Regions from separate parts of the Homo sapiens genome. Here region 1 is linked to region 2. The links are contacts of gene promoters, found by promoter capture Hi-C in blood cells and fetal thymus (Javierre and others, 2016). All regions are on one chromosome and are shown on one strand. Each heading gives the region's core, a stretch centred on a gene start or on the middle of the fragment in contact. The rest is flanking DNA. Distances are from core to core; before and after follow the strand shown. Region 1 overlaps HOOK1 (hook microtubule tethering protein 1). Region 2 holds the start of USP1 (ubiquitin specific peptidase 1).

Region 1 (6,458 bases), core at 1-2,500, 2.6 Mb after region 2:
CAAACAAATGGAACTATGCTAATATGTCTCTATGGCTGTGTAACTTTATAAAAATAAACTAAACATTTCACAAAATCATGCCTAGGACATTAGAACATATTGATGCCATGCATAAGTAATACATAATTTGGAATAATACAAAACCAGGTATATAACTCTAGTCTTGTGTTTTGTCTATATTTAGCAGAACATCAGAAAAAGAACTTAAAGATAACCCAACATTTGCAACTTAAAATTTCACTCATATCATTTGATAGAAAAACAAAGGCTAGAAATGTCAAGTCTAAACCTACTTACAGTTTATCCATGAGCTCTGAAATAAGACAGGACTTCTGTTTCCTATCTAAAAATTGGCCTTACGTCTTGAAGAATCAAGCCCTATCTATCACGTCAAGTTGTTTCTATCTATTTTGGCTTTAGGTATACTAACTTTTCACATATATCTGTTAAATATTCATGTATATATTGAAGAGAAGCGGAATAATAACCTCTTTTTACAATAAGCAAATATGAGATAGAAAAAAATTTAGAAAGCAAATTACATCAGAGCTAAAATGGATCATAAACTTTCTAGAAAGGTAATCTCAACCTATAAACACCTTAAGTTAAATATACTATGATTCTCTTTTCCCACACATACTCACCCATTTCACTGTTCACTAATAATTTCTTAGTTTACCATTTAACTATCTTAATCCAATAAAATTCTCTCCCGCCATAATTCACTTTTAATGGTTCTGTGCATTTTCAGAGTTGGCAACTGGAGATTCAGACCTCCATTATCTAACACAACACAGATGAATGATACCAGCAAACTAAACCTAGCCAGTTATTTTCAAAACACACAGAGACACTTTACTAAGCTCCTACGCTATGTGAGACACTGTGGCACATGATGGGGCTACAAAGGAAAACCACCAGGTTTCTACCCTTAAAGCTTCAGTCAAAAGTTAAGGAGAGGAGGAAGAGACATAAATCATTTCTAGACAATATGGTAAGTCCCATGATTACAGTATGCACAAAATGTTCTGCAAAAAATGGGTGTCAACTAATCTAATTAGGGTTTGTATTTAGGAAAGGCTTCTCGGAGATGATTTCTGAATGGAAGGTCTAGAGGGAAGAGTAGCATATTTTCTAAGTAAAGAAATAGTCAAGGAAAAAAAGCTTCAGGAAATAGGAATATGATAAAAGTACAGATACATGAGAAGAGATATTATTTTTAGGGAACATGCAGTTCAGTATCACTGGATTTGCAGTGCAAAGAAGGCTGGGGAAGGGGTGACAACCAACAGGGTTAAAGAGACAGGACTCCAAAGGGCCATGACAAGAAGCTTGGACTTATTTTACACTTAATGGCATTATCTACATAATAAGAAACAGTAGAGTAGTTTCTACCTCACAAGATGGTTGGGGAATTAAGTGAAATAGCAAATATACCTATATCAGGGCCTGGCATGTGGCATAAGCTCAACAGCTGTTAGCACATTAGCTATGAGTCAGGGTTTCTCCAAGTATAGGGCCTAGAAACAATATGTATCAGAATCTCTAGACATATTAAATAAGAAAATCTCCAACTGATTCTTAAATATGTCAATTTTGGAGAACCACTGCTCTGGGTGATGAAAAATCACTGAAAAGTAATAAGGAAGAGTAACATTCTTTGGCATATTTTGGAGAGCAGATAGTGACACAGAGTAGCTTTATGCCTGAGTCAGGCAGACCAGTTAGAAGGTTCCTGCAATGGCTCTGATGACAAAAATAGAGTAGAGGGAATCAGCATAATATTGACTGAGAGGAGATGATGAATTAATGGAATATTTAAAATACAAAATAAGAAGGATTTTGCAACTGGGTGGATGTACAGGGAAGAGAAACTCCAAGAATTAGGGCATCTTTAAAAGGAAAATAAACTGTGACTTCCACTTTTCAGCCCTTCCAACTTAAACATTAACTTTTAATGTGTAACTTAGAAGTTACATCATTAACTTTTTACAAAATTGACACAATTCATGATTTTAAAAGGACAATTTCAGAGGCACAGAATACTAGGCAAAATAAGAGGTACACATGCTAAGGGACTACCTCCATGACCACTATGTTCAGATTAAAATCAATTTCCCCTCCTTCCTGCCATGGACATTGGAGTGTCTCTGAGAAGTTCTTAAAATAGCTGCAAAATAAATTAGAAAACAGAATGTAATTTGATTTCACTCAATTGAAAGGCTTACAACCAAGAAGAGTGAATTAATTAAAAAGCTTAGTGGGGAGGCTGGGTGCAGTGGCTCATGCCTGTAATTCCAGCACTTTGGGAGGCCGAGGCAGGTGGATCACTTGAGGTGAGGAGTTCGAGACCAGCCTGGCCAACATGGTGAAACCCTGTCTCTACTAAAAATACAAAAATTAGCCGGGTGTGGTGGCACATGCCTGTAATCCCAGCTACTAGGGAGGGTGAGACAGGAGAATCCCTTGAACCCGGGAGGTGGAGGTTGCAGTGAGCCGAGATCATGCCACTGCACTATAGCCTAGGCAACAGAGTGAGACTTCGCCTCAAAAAAAAAAAAAAAAAAAAAAAAAAAAATGCTTATTGGGGCGAGTGAGGTCAAAGCAGACAAAAGAAAATGTATTCTTTCTAACTAAAGTCTTTTTAGTGAGTGACCCAAAAAAGACAGACAGGGTTTCCACAGGTGTCTACCGCTAAACACAGTGTTCTGGCAAATAATTACCTTACTCTCTTCTATATTTCTAAATAAAACAAATAATCAGAAATGTGGAAATGCTGTTCCTAAACTACTTTAATATAAATGTCACAGAAATCAAGGAAAATGGGGTTTTCACAACCAACAGCCAACAAAAACTCAATCTTGGATCAACTTTATTTTCATATTCTCCTCCTCCAGCTGCTCATTACAAAAAAAACAACCATTGCTTTAAGTTTTAAGATCTTCATAAAAATAATTGAGGTTTTAATAATTTTCTAAATTTAGGCATATATTAATTATTACTCTTTCCTTCATCTGCCTGTCAAAGAATGCAAGAACCAAGAAAAACATTTAAATATATTTGGTCCAACCTTCTAATTTTATTGGTGAAAGTAAGGTCCAAAGATATTAAACAAATTTCCAATGTCACAGAACCAAGTAGCAGAATTAAATTTATCTTTATACAAACATTTCTTCAAACTCTCATACATGTCCTCCAACATGTAAATGATACCCACATTTACCCTTTTGCCCTGAATTTTCTGCTAAGTAGCAGTACAACATTTCTAAGAGCCAATTATTTTAAGACGGTGAGTTCCAAATCATAAAATGCAATTTTTAAAAAATTGCCACAAGAGGCATTCCTTCACATAACTAACTTTTCTTGATGACTTCTCTAATTCTGTTGATGTTGGCTCCATTCTCCTCCTAGCGCTGAAAGAAGAGTTATTCCCAACTGTCTTATCTCCATGATTTGGCCCCATCATAACTTTTTTTAATCTTCTATCTTTGAGCCAGGGTTATCATGACAAATGTGTGTGTTCCACTATCTCCCTTTAATCTATAGCCAAAGGAGACCATTTGTTTTACTACTAGTGTCTCTTCCCTGTGTCTGGAGAACTAATTTCCACTGATTTCTACTTGCTGAAATCCAACAATCCTCTATGACCCAGTTAAAAATTCACTCCCAAGTATTTATAAAAAACTAAGCTATATCACACTTAATGGTGAAACACTAGTCTCTGAGGTGAGAACCAAGGCAATGATATTTACTATCACCACTTTGATTTGGTGTCTTATTGGCAATAGTTGTCAGTGTTCTCCTAGGGACAGAGCAGAAAATAGGTCATGTAAGAGCTCTGATCCCAAAAGCCAACTGGATTACTTTAGAAAGTACTGTGTTATAGATAAGACAGAAAGAGGTTAACAGGTTACAGTGGGATAAGGGTGGGAGACAAACTTTAGAAATGGTTGTAACAAAGAGTCCCTGAAAAGCAACATCTGACCCAAGACCTGAATGACGGAAGCAGCCAACCACTGGAAGAACTAGAAAGAGAATATTCTAGGTAGAGGGAAAAAAATCCCTGATGCATTAAAACAGCTTAGCTTCTTCAACAAATAGAAAGTCAATGCAGCATGATAGGCTTGAAGAACTGTTGCTTGAGGTGAGTTTGGAGAAAGTTGGGTAGGTGAGGTAAGATCAACAGTGCGGTTGCTGGCAAAGGCAAAAATAATTAGTTAATTAAAAAAAAAAGACAGTAAACTTCACTGGAAATCATCTAAAGAGGTAAAGAAAAGGCAACAGACAAGATAACCAGAAACCAAGACAAGATAATTTCACAAAGGAACCATCAAGTAAGAAAATGGTAATATAACACTTAGTGGATTTAGCAAACTGGTAATGAAGTGAAAGTCTTAGAGGAAAGAAACTCAAGGGTAGTGGGTTGAAGACTGAATGAGAGTGAAGCATAAAGGGTGAGAATAAAACAACTCAAATTTTACTGTGAAGGAAAGGGGAAATACAGTATGACTTTAACACGGAATAGTGGCTCTTTGTTCTCTGTTAAAAAAGGGGAATACTTCAGCAAGTTTATACATACAGAGAAAGGAGCCAATGGAGAGAAAGTAGTTGTAAATACAGAAAGGGAACAAATGATACAATAACGTTTTAAAAGAGGTGGAAGGGATGGAGTCTAAAGCCAGAGCCAAGGATAAGGAGGTGGTCATTTGCCCCAGAGGAATAAGAGTTGGGGGCTCAGGTAGAATACTGATAAAGGTTTGCTAAGAGGAATGTGAGAGAAACTGTCTGGTTATTCTTAAGTATGGGCAATGTTAGGAGAAAAGGTGCGTTTGACAGTAACAGCATTAGTAGAGGCAACAGTTTGCACGGTCATTCAATTTTCTCCACAGTGCTCAGCAGCCCAAGAGAGGACTGAAGAAAACGACCAATTTTACTCTGTTATCTGTGATTCCTTATCATTTGGTTTACAACATATTTGCAGCTTTTACGGAATTTTACCTTCCACTGTAATTACACACAGCTCTGGCTACCACTCCAGTCCTCCCCAGTGCCTAGCTCAACATTGGAAGTCAATAAATTCTGGTTAAAAGAGTGGATACAGTCACATAATATTTTAAAATATTACAACACAAAAGAAAATCCTGTGCTTCTCCACCACCTCACATGTAAATCAATGACATCATAAAGACTAAGCTTAACACTTCAGTCAATTGAGGTTTACAATAATGTAGCAGATTCGGATACACCCTTTAATTAGTCTGTTTTAACAAAACAAATCATTAAAAGTAATGTTGCCTTGTTTCTACGACAGTCTTAAATACAGCACTTCCACCCCAATACCTATTTCAAATGAAAATTCAGCTGAACAGTTAGCTAATTGCTTTTAACTCACAAACCCTAAATATTTGCATTCCACTAAAAGCAAAAGTTATTTACTTACAAAGTGTAAATGCTTTAAATTATGGCTATTTCCAATAGGCTTCACACATTTCCATAAACCTAGATTTCTCATTCTTTGGAATTAGATGCATTAGATCACTAGGGAATCTCAACCGATTACAGCCTCCTGATCCCGTCTGTTTACATTCCATCTGCACACACTCCCCTAGACGCAACTAAACAACTGGTTTGGGATGAGCATCATCAACAGCACCTTGTGGCTCATCAAACACCATCTTTACTCAATATGGGTTAAGAACCACACCTGAATGCCAGCACTGATATCTAAGTAACTCTAAGAGGTGGGATGTCATTTTGCTGACTGGAATATTGAACAATCTGGGGACAGATATGCCTGTCCAGACCCAACACAAATTAACAAAAATCCTAAACACAGATAAATCCTAAAGAAAAATGTCAACTCATTTTCTTTAAAGAAAATGCTGTCCATTTAGAGGAGGAGAGGGCCAGCGAGAAAAAGGGAAAACGACCCCCGACTCCCAACACATCTTTTTCTCCATACGGGAAATACAAACATCTCTTTGAAGCGGCTTCTACAAAATCGGATGTTCTAGAGTCCTGAAGGAGCATTGGTCCGGGAACTAAAACAGCCAGCCACCTCCTGGCCACCTGTGTCCAGGTAGAGCAAGGTAGTTTGAGGATGCAGGGTTAGGTTTCGGAAAGGGTCTTCACGCCCAAGCGGACCAAGGCAAGAGAGTCGGCGATCCAGAAAGTGGAGGGCTCGGGCGCTGTTCAGGGGGAGAAAATGGGGCAGCGGGGAGAAAAGAGGATGGGTGCTTGGTTCATATCCCAGCTGTTAGGGCACCAGGCAGGTCGAATCCTCTGGTTGAGACCAGAGCCTCCACTGTTACGCTCCCAGAGCTTCCTTTACCCCCACCCCCGGACACCAACCCGCGCCCACACACCTGCCCGTCGACCCGCAGGTGGCATTCTCTCGGTCAAGGGCACGAGGTGAGAAGGGCAGGGTGCGCCGGGACCCTGTGCAGGTAGCCCCAGCT
Region 2 (6,074 bases), core at 743-3,242:
AACATGGATATATGAAAATAAAGTACCTAAAAAGCTTATTAAAGAATAATTTGCATTCAAGGCATAGAGATGGTGTTAAGTTATACCTAAAACCGTAAGTGAAAGATAAAACACAAGCAAAGTTGAGACCGTGATAAAAAAAACTGTTCGATGCACTTTGTGTAAATCCAATTCTTAATGCACTAGAAACCACAATACTCGTTTTCCAAACTTTTTAAAAAACTTTGGATTTTAAAAATAGTGCTTTGAGTAGGAAAAAAAGATGATTTGGTTTGCCATTTGCAACTTTCCCACCCTGTTTTAAAGTAAAACTTGCACGTGAAAAAAAATGGCAACATTTGTAGGAGTGTAGGAGTTAATATTTTCTACATCAGGCCTATTTTTCAGGACATGGGAGGAAAAATTATCTGACTAGAGTATTACCATAAAATTACTTAAAGCCCAAAACTTCAGCAACGAGTTTCAAATTTAAAATGCAGAGTAATAAAATGAACTACACAAGACTCACTCAAATTTCATCCTTAATAAGCATTTCACATGGCTGACACTGATCTAGGAATTCATACTGAACTCAGCACACTGAAACCATTTCTGAGACCCAAATCAGGAAGCACTGGAAAGCTGATCCATCTCTCCATTCTGTCTCCAACTTCACTTACTCTCCTGTCTACCTAATGCTTCTGAGGAAGCGCTGTCTTCTGAATGATAAACCAACCTGCGCTAAGTTCTCAGGGATCGCCAAGCATTAATGATTCTGATAAAAGGTTTTTCTCGAGAGCCAATTTAATGGATGACAGAAACTGGATCTCAAACCGACAGAGTAACCAGACTACACAGAAGGGAAGAATGATTAGGCAGGTGAAATAGCGGATCGTCAGCTTAATCAAAAAACCAAACCTCCTAGCCCCTCAAAGCAAAGCTCACACCGAGAATGTAACATTTTGCCAGGTGCAGTATCTTCCTTGCTATTTCTTGCTCCTGGCTTTCCTTGTAACTGGGGGGCTGTTACATCCAAAATATTTCTCCTGTAACTAAATCAACTTTCGCAGAAAGCACGACGAATCGACCATTATCTGTTGACAGCGTGAACACTCAGTCCCAATAGTTTTAAATTCTTTATAAGATGACACGACTCGATTCCGATTTTTCAACAAAAATCTACAAGGACATCTTCGCCAAGGTTTAAGACACGCGGCGTTCTAAACACTTCTTGAAAAAGTGTAAGTGAAAGAAAATGCGCGGTAAAATTTCGCAATTACCGACACAGGGCAACCTGCGTGGAAACGTTTCTTTCTCCCCATCCTTCACCGCTCTCGGGAACGGAAAGAAAGCTGGAAGGACGAGCAGCGACCAGGCTGCCCGGTCGGGGGAGGCTGGCGGCGGCGTCCTCGGCCCACACCCCCGCGCCGGGCGCCCTCGCCGCGGAGTTGGCCTATTTACGCCCAGCCCGCACCTGCCTTCTCGCGTCCCGGCGGCGGCAAGACAGGCGCCACGCCCGAGGCACACACGGCTCCCCCTGGCAGGTCGACCAGGGTGCGAGGCCAACACGGTCCCGGGGTCTCCCCGGCAGCTCCTCTCCCGCGCCGGCCGAACTTGCCCCCGCGCCCGGGAGCCGGCCCCTCCTCCCAGGCCCTCCTTACCTGGTCATGGCCCAAAGCGAAGTCCGCGGCGGTGACGCCGGCAAGTCCAACCCGAATGAGTGTGGGTGCGACAGGTGAGTCCCTGCCCCGAGCCCGCCGGGTCCCCGGCCCCAGGAAAATCTGGTCGGCTCGCCCTCCCCGCGGGGGAGTGACCATCCGCTCCCAAGAGCGGGAACCCCGACCGCCGCTCGCTCCCGTCTTGCACCAACACCAACTACATCCCGGGAGCGGCGCCCATCTGCGCCCGCCCCGGGAGAGCCAGGAGCGCAACAAGCAGCGGCCCCGCTCGCCGAACGCCTGAACCGCTAGGGTCTTTAGCACTCCGCCACCGAGGGGAACTTGGCGCGTTTTCCTCAGTCTCAGGACCCCCGTGTTTTAGCCTCCGCCCGCGCCAGCGCTGCGATTGAACGTGGCGTCCTTTGAAATTGCCGGTTCCAGTCTCCACGCTGCAGAGACACGAAAGGCAGGAGCCGTCTCGCGACGGCCACTCGCCCCTGGCACGCACGGGCTCCGGAGCCAGCTGGGACTGTAGTTCCCCAAAAGCCTAACGGGTTCCACAGTTTCAAACAACGCAGGCACAGAGCCGGGCAGCTCGTGCGGGTCCTCGCTGAGGGCGCGCGCGAGGTGCTAGCGGCCTGGCTGGCGGGCTCGAGCCTCACACCCTTTTTTTAACCATTCGTGCGCGCGAGTTGAGGGAAAAGCGTACGGGTCGGGAGACGGGACAGAGAGCAGACGGGATGGGCCACCACCTCGAGAAGGAGCCCAAATTCACCAATCCATGATGAACAATCCCCAAAACCGCGCCTCCCACCGCCCGGGGGAAGCCAATCAGAAGTACCTAGACCAAAGCCAATTAGATGGGCGGGAGCAGCAAGCCCATCTAATAGCAAAAAAGAAGAAAGGTGGGCTCCAGCCAATCATTGTTCGACATACGGAGTGTTCCTCAGGCGCGGTGCCCCTCCTTCCGCTCTCATTGGCGCTCGAGTGCGCGCTTTCGCTGCCGACTGTTAAAATCTTGTTTGGCGTTTTGTTAATCCTCGACGGTGGGACGCCGCGGAGGGTGCGGCTTCCGGAGCGAGGCCCTCGCGGTAAGCCCCGCCTCCGTTCGTGCGTACGCGCCCGGGCGGGGTTACCAAGAGAGCAGCTTCGGAAAATGGCTGCCCGGCTGGACGCCGCCGCGCTTGGGCTTTCAGTTCGGAGTCGCGGCCACACTAGGCCTAGGGCCATCCAATGAGACAAGGCGCTGCCACGGATAACAATACATGCTCAGGCGAATGCTGTAGAGCTGAGGCCCGGTCCTCAGCCCCTGCTCGCCTCATTTTCGCCTGTTTACCTCTTCCCTTTCTCGGCCGCAGGAGGAAACGAAAGAACAGTTTCAGGCCCAGCTCCGGCCGCGGGAGCTTCCCAGGGTTCCCGCGCGAGCCCTCCCAAAGGGTTCAGGAGCGGCAGGCAGGCCTCATCTGGTTGTGTGCTTCCTTTTGTGTTTGTGTGCCTGCTTTGGTGAGGTGACCTCAGCTCAAGTGCTGCAGTTAAGCAGGATACGTTCAGCCCAAATCCATTTAATCAAGTATTTTTAAGGTGCCTACTATGTGCCAGGCATTTTTCAAGGCGCGAGGGATGTAAAGGCATTCCCTGTCATAAAGGAGCATTACATTCTGGAGAGGGAGATACAAGTGACGCTAAGATAAGTGATAGATACGATAGCCTGGAAAGACCTCTTTGAGTTGACATTTGAGCAGAGCTGAATGAAAAAGCTTGGAGGAATCTGAGGGAAGAATGGTGCGGGCAGAGAGAACAGCAAGTTACAAACGTCCTGAAGCTTAATGTGGTTGGTGTTTTGAAAAGAAGCAAGGAGGCCAGGGCGCTTAGAGCGCAGTCAATTTGGGAAATAAGATGGGAGGAGATGAGATGAGTGAGAAAGGCAGGACCCTGGGTAAGCCGAGTAAGGAGATGGGAGTCGTTAGATGATTCTGAGCTGGGGAGTGGCGGGATTACACGTTGACCTTCAAGAGTACAAGCAGGGTCGGGCGTGGTGGCTCACGCTTGTAATCCCAGCACGTTGGGAGGCCAAGGCGGGCTGATCTCTTGAGGTCGGGAATTCGAGACCAGCCTGACCAACATGGAGAAACCCCGTCCCTACTAAAAATACAAAATTAGCCGGGCGTGGTGGCGCAGGCCTGTAATCCCAGCTACTCCGGAGGCTGAGGCAGGAGAATCGCTTGAACCCAGGAGGCGGAGGTTGCGGTGAGCCGAGATCGCCTCACTGCACTCCAGCCTGGGCAACCAGAGCAAAACTCTGTCTCAAAAAAAGAAAAGTACCAGCGGAAAGGTCAGCCAAGATGCTGGTTCAATAAGCCAAGGAATAAATTATGGTAGTCTGGAATAAGATGGTGGGATGTTGAAAACTGGTAGGGTTCAAGATATATTTTGAGCACAGCCAACGAGCTCTACTGATGGATTGGCTGTATGATAATGTAAGAAAAAACAGGTCGGGTAGCCAGGGCCGGTGGACCGCTTGAACCCAGGAGTTCAAGATCAGCCTGGGCAACATGGCAAGACCCATCGCTACAAAAAACTCCAAAAATTGGCCGTGCGTGGTGGCACGTGCCTGTAGTCCCAGCCACTCGGGAGGATGAGGGAGGAGGATCCCCTGGCTGCAGTGAGCCGAGATGCACCACTGCACTCCAGCCTGGGCAACAGTGTGAGGCCCTGCCCTCCACCCTCCCACCCGAAAAAAGAAAAAAAAACAAAGAGTAACGATTTTTTTTTTAACCTGAGCAACTCAGTGTTGGTCCTTGCTAAAATGGGGGTCTTAGTAGGCTCAATGGGAAGGATCATCGTTCTTAGAATATTAAGATTGAGGTGTTTAACGTACAAACAGATGTTGAACCAGCAGATCACGAAATACACAAGGACAAGATTAGAAAATGTATATAGGTCAGTCTTAGCCATTGTGCACCACAGAGTGGCAGTGTCTCATTTTCTAGTACTAGCATAATTATTGCTACTTTCAAACTCTACGAGAACAGATAAGCAATTCTACTTTCCCATATTCCTGAGATCCTATTGTCTGCAGCCACTATTCTTCCTGTACACAATGTGTGGTATCAGTTAAGATTCATTTGCGGAAAATAGAATCCATTTTAGCTAGTATAAACACAAAGATATTGAATACTTGGGAGGGTTGATTAAATAGGCTCTAGATTAGTTTTTCAGGAATGAGTCCCAAAGTCTTCCCAGAACCAGGCCACCAAGGAAGCAATGACTCTTCTATGATCAGGAAATGACGTCTCTGAATCACACTGCTGCTGCCATGCCTAGGAAACCACCATCAGAAAGCTGCGTGCACCGCTGACCCTAGAACCACACTATACCCACTATGATCTGCACCAGTGCCATGCATATCCTACGTCCCGTCTGTCAAGGCCCACAGGACAAGTGGCTAGACACTGAGGTTTCTGCTAATGCTGCTTCAGAAAAATCAAACACCTCCACAACTGTGCTTGTCAACAGCAATAGCAGAAGTTTGGTGTGTCTCTGGCAATATGATTAATGTAAAAATTTAATATGCTTCTCATTCTTTTGCTTTCAGTCAGTTGTTTGTGGGAGAAATTCTAGCCACAGTTCTTGCCTAGATGAGTTTTTAAGCCCCGAAACTTTTTTCCCAGTTTCTGTGTGCTCCCCAGTTACCCCACTCTTAATGACAGCTAATCCCTTTGGAAACAATGGGATTTAATAGGTTCACAGCATTCTCAATCCTATATTTGTCAGTCTTGTGTGGGTAAATGCCAGGCATATTTCCTTCCAAAGTTTCACAGGCACTGTTTCTGTGTACAGTCATCCCTTGGTATCCATGGGGGATTGGTTCCAGGACCGTTATGGATATCAAAATCCGAGGATGCTCAAGTCCCATATATAAAATGGCATAGTATTTGCATACAACTTATGCACATCCCACCTATACTTTAAATCATCTCTAGATTACTTAATTACCTAATACAATGCCTACACATCATTCACATGGATTTAACATAGTATTTAACACTTGGCACGTGGCAAATTCAAGTTTTGCTTTTTGGAACTTTGTGTACCTTTTTCATAAGATTTTTTGATCTGTGGTTGGTTGAATCCATGTATATGGAACCCATGAATGTGGAGGGCCAACTGTACTTCAGTCTAAAGGTATAGAAGAAGTGTGGTTTTTTTCCGCCCTTTAAATCTTCAAATTATGAAACTTTTATTTTTATTTTTTTGAGATGGAGTCTTGCTCTGTCCCCCAGGCTGGAGTGCAATGGCATGATCTTGGCTCACTGCAACCTCCACCTCCTGGGTTCAAGCAATTCTCCTGCCTCAGCCTCCCAAGTAGCTGGGATTACTGGTGCCTGCCACGACGCCCAGCTAATTTTTGTATTTTTAATAGAGACGGGGTTTCAC

What was found. The method cuts DNA at HindIII sites, captures the fragments that hold promoters and counts their contacts. A CHiCAGO score of 5 or more calls a contact.
Region 1: a contact is called between a fragment that was not itself captured here and the fragment with the promoter of USP1 in region 2, in 1 of 17 cell types (naive CD8 T cells). The highest score is 5.8, in naive CD8 T cells.

What each region holds. Positions count from the first base shown.
Region 1 is chr1:59,815,259-59,821,716 of GRCh38, reverse strand. All of the region lies in intron 1 of HOOK1 (hook microtubule tethering protein 1), which reads right to left. Among named protein-coding and RNA genes, the nearest start is that of HOOK1, 3.5 kb to the right of the region's middle. RefSeq lists an enhancer at 5,901-6,458. The HindIII fragment of the contact is 167 bases long and covers 1,167-1,333 here.
Region 2 is chr1:62,432,967-62,439,040 of GRCh38, reverse strand. It overlaps USP1 (ubiquitin specific peptidase 1), which reads right to left and starts at 1,992. Exons shown (of 9, transcript NM_003368.5): 1 at 1,641-1,992. RefSeq lists a silencer at 1,336-1,395 and enhancers at 2,096-2,165, 1,990-2,757, 2,726-3,075, 2,758-3,525. The HindIII fragment of the contact is 3,360 bases long and covers 37-3,396 here.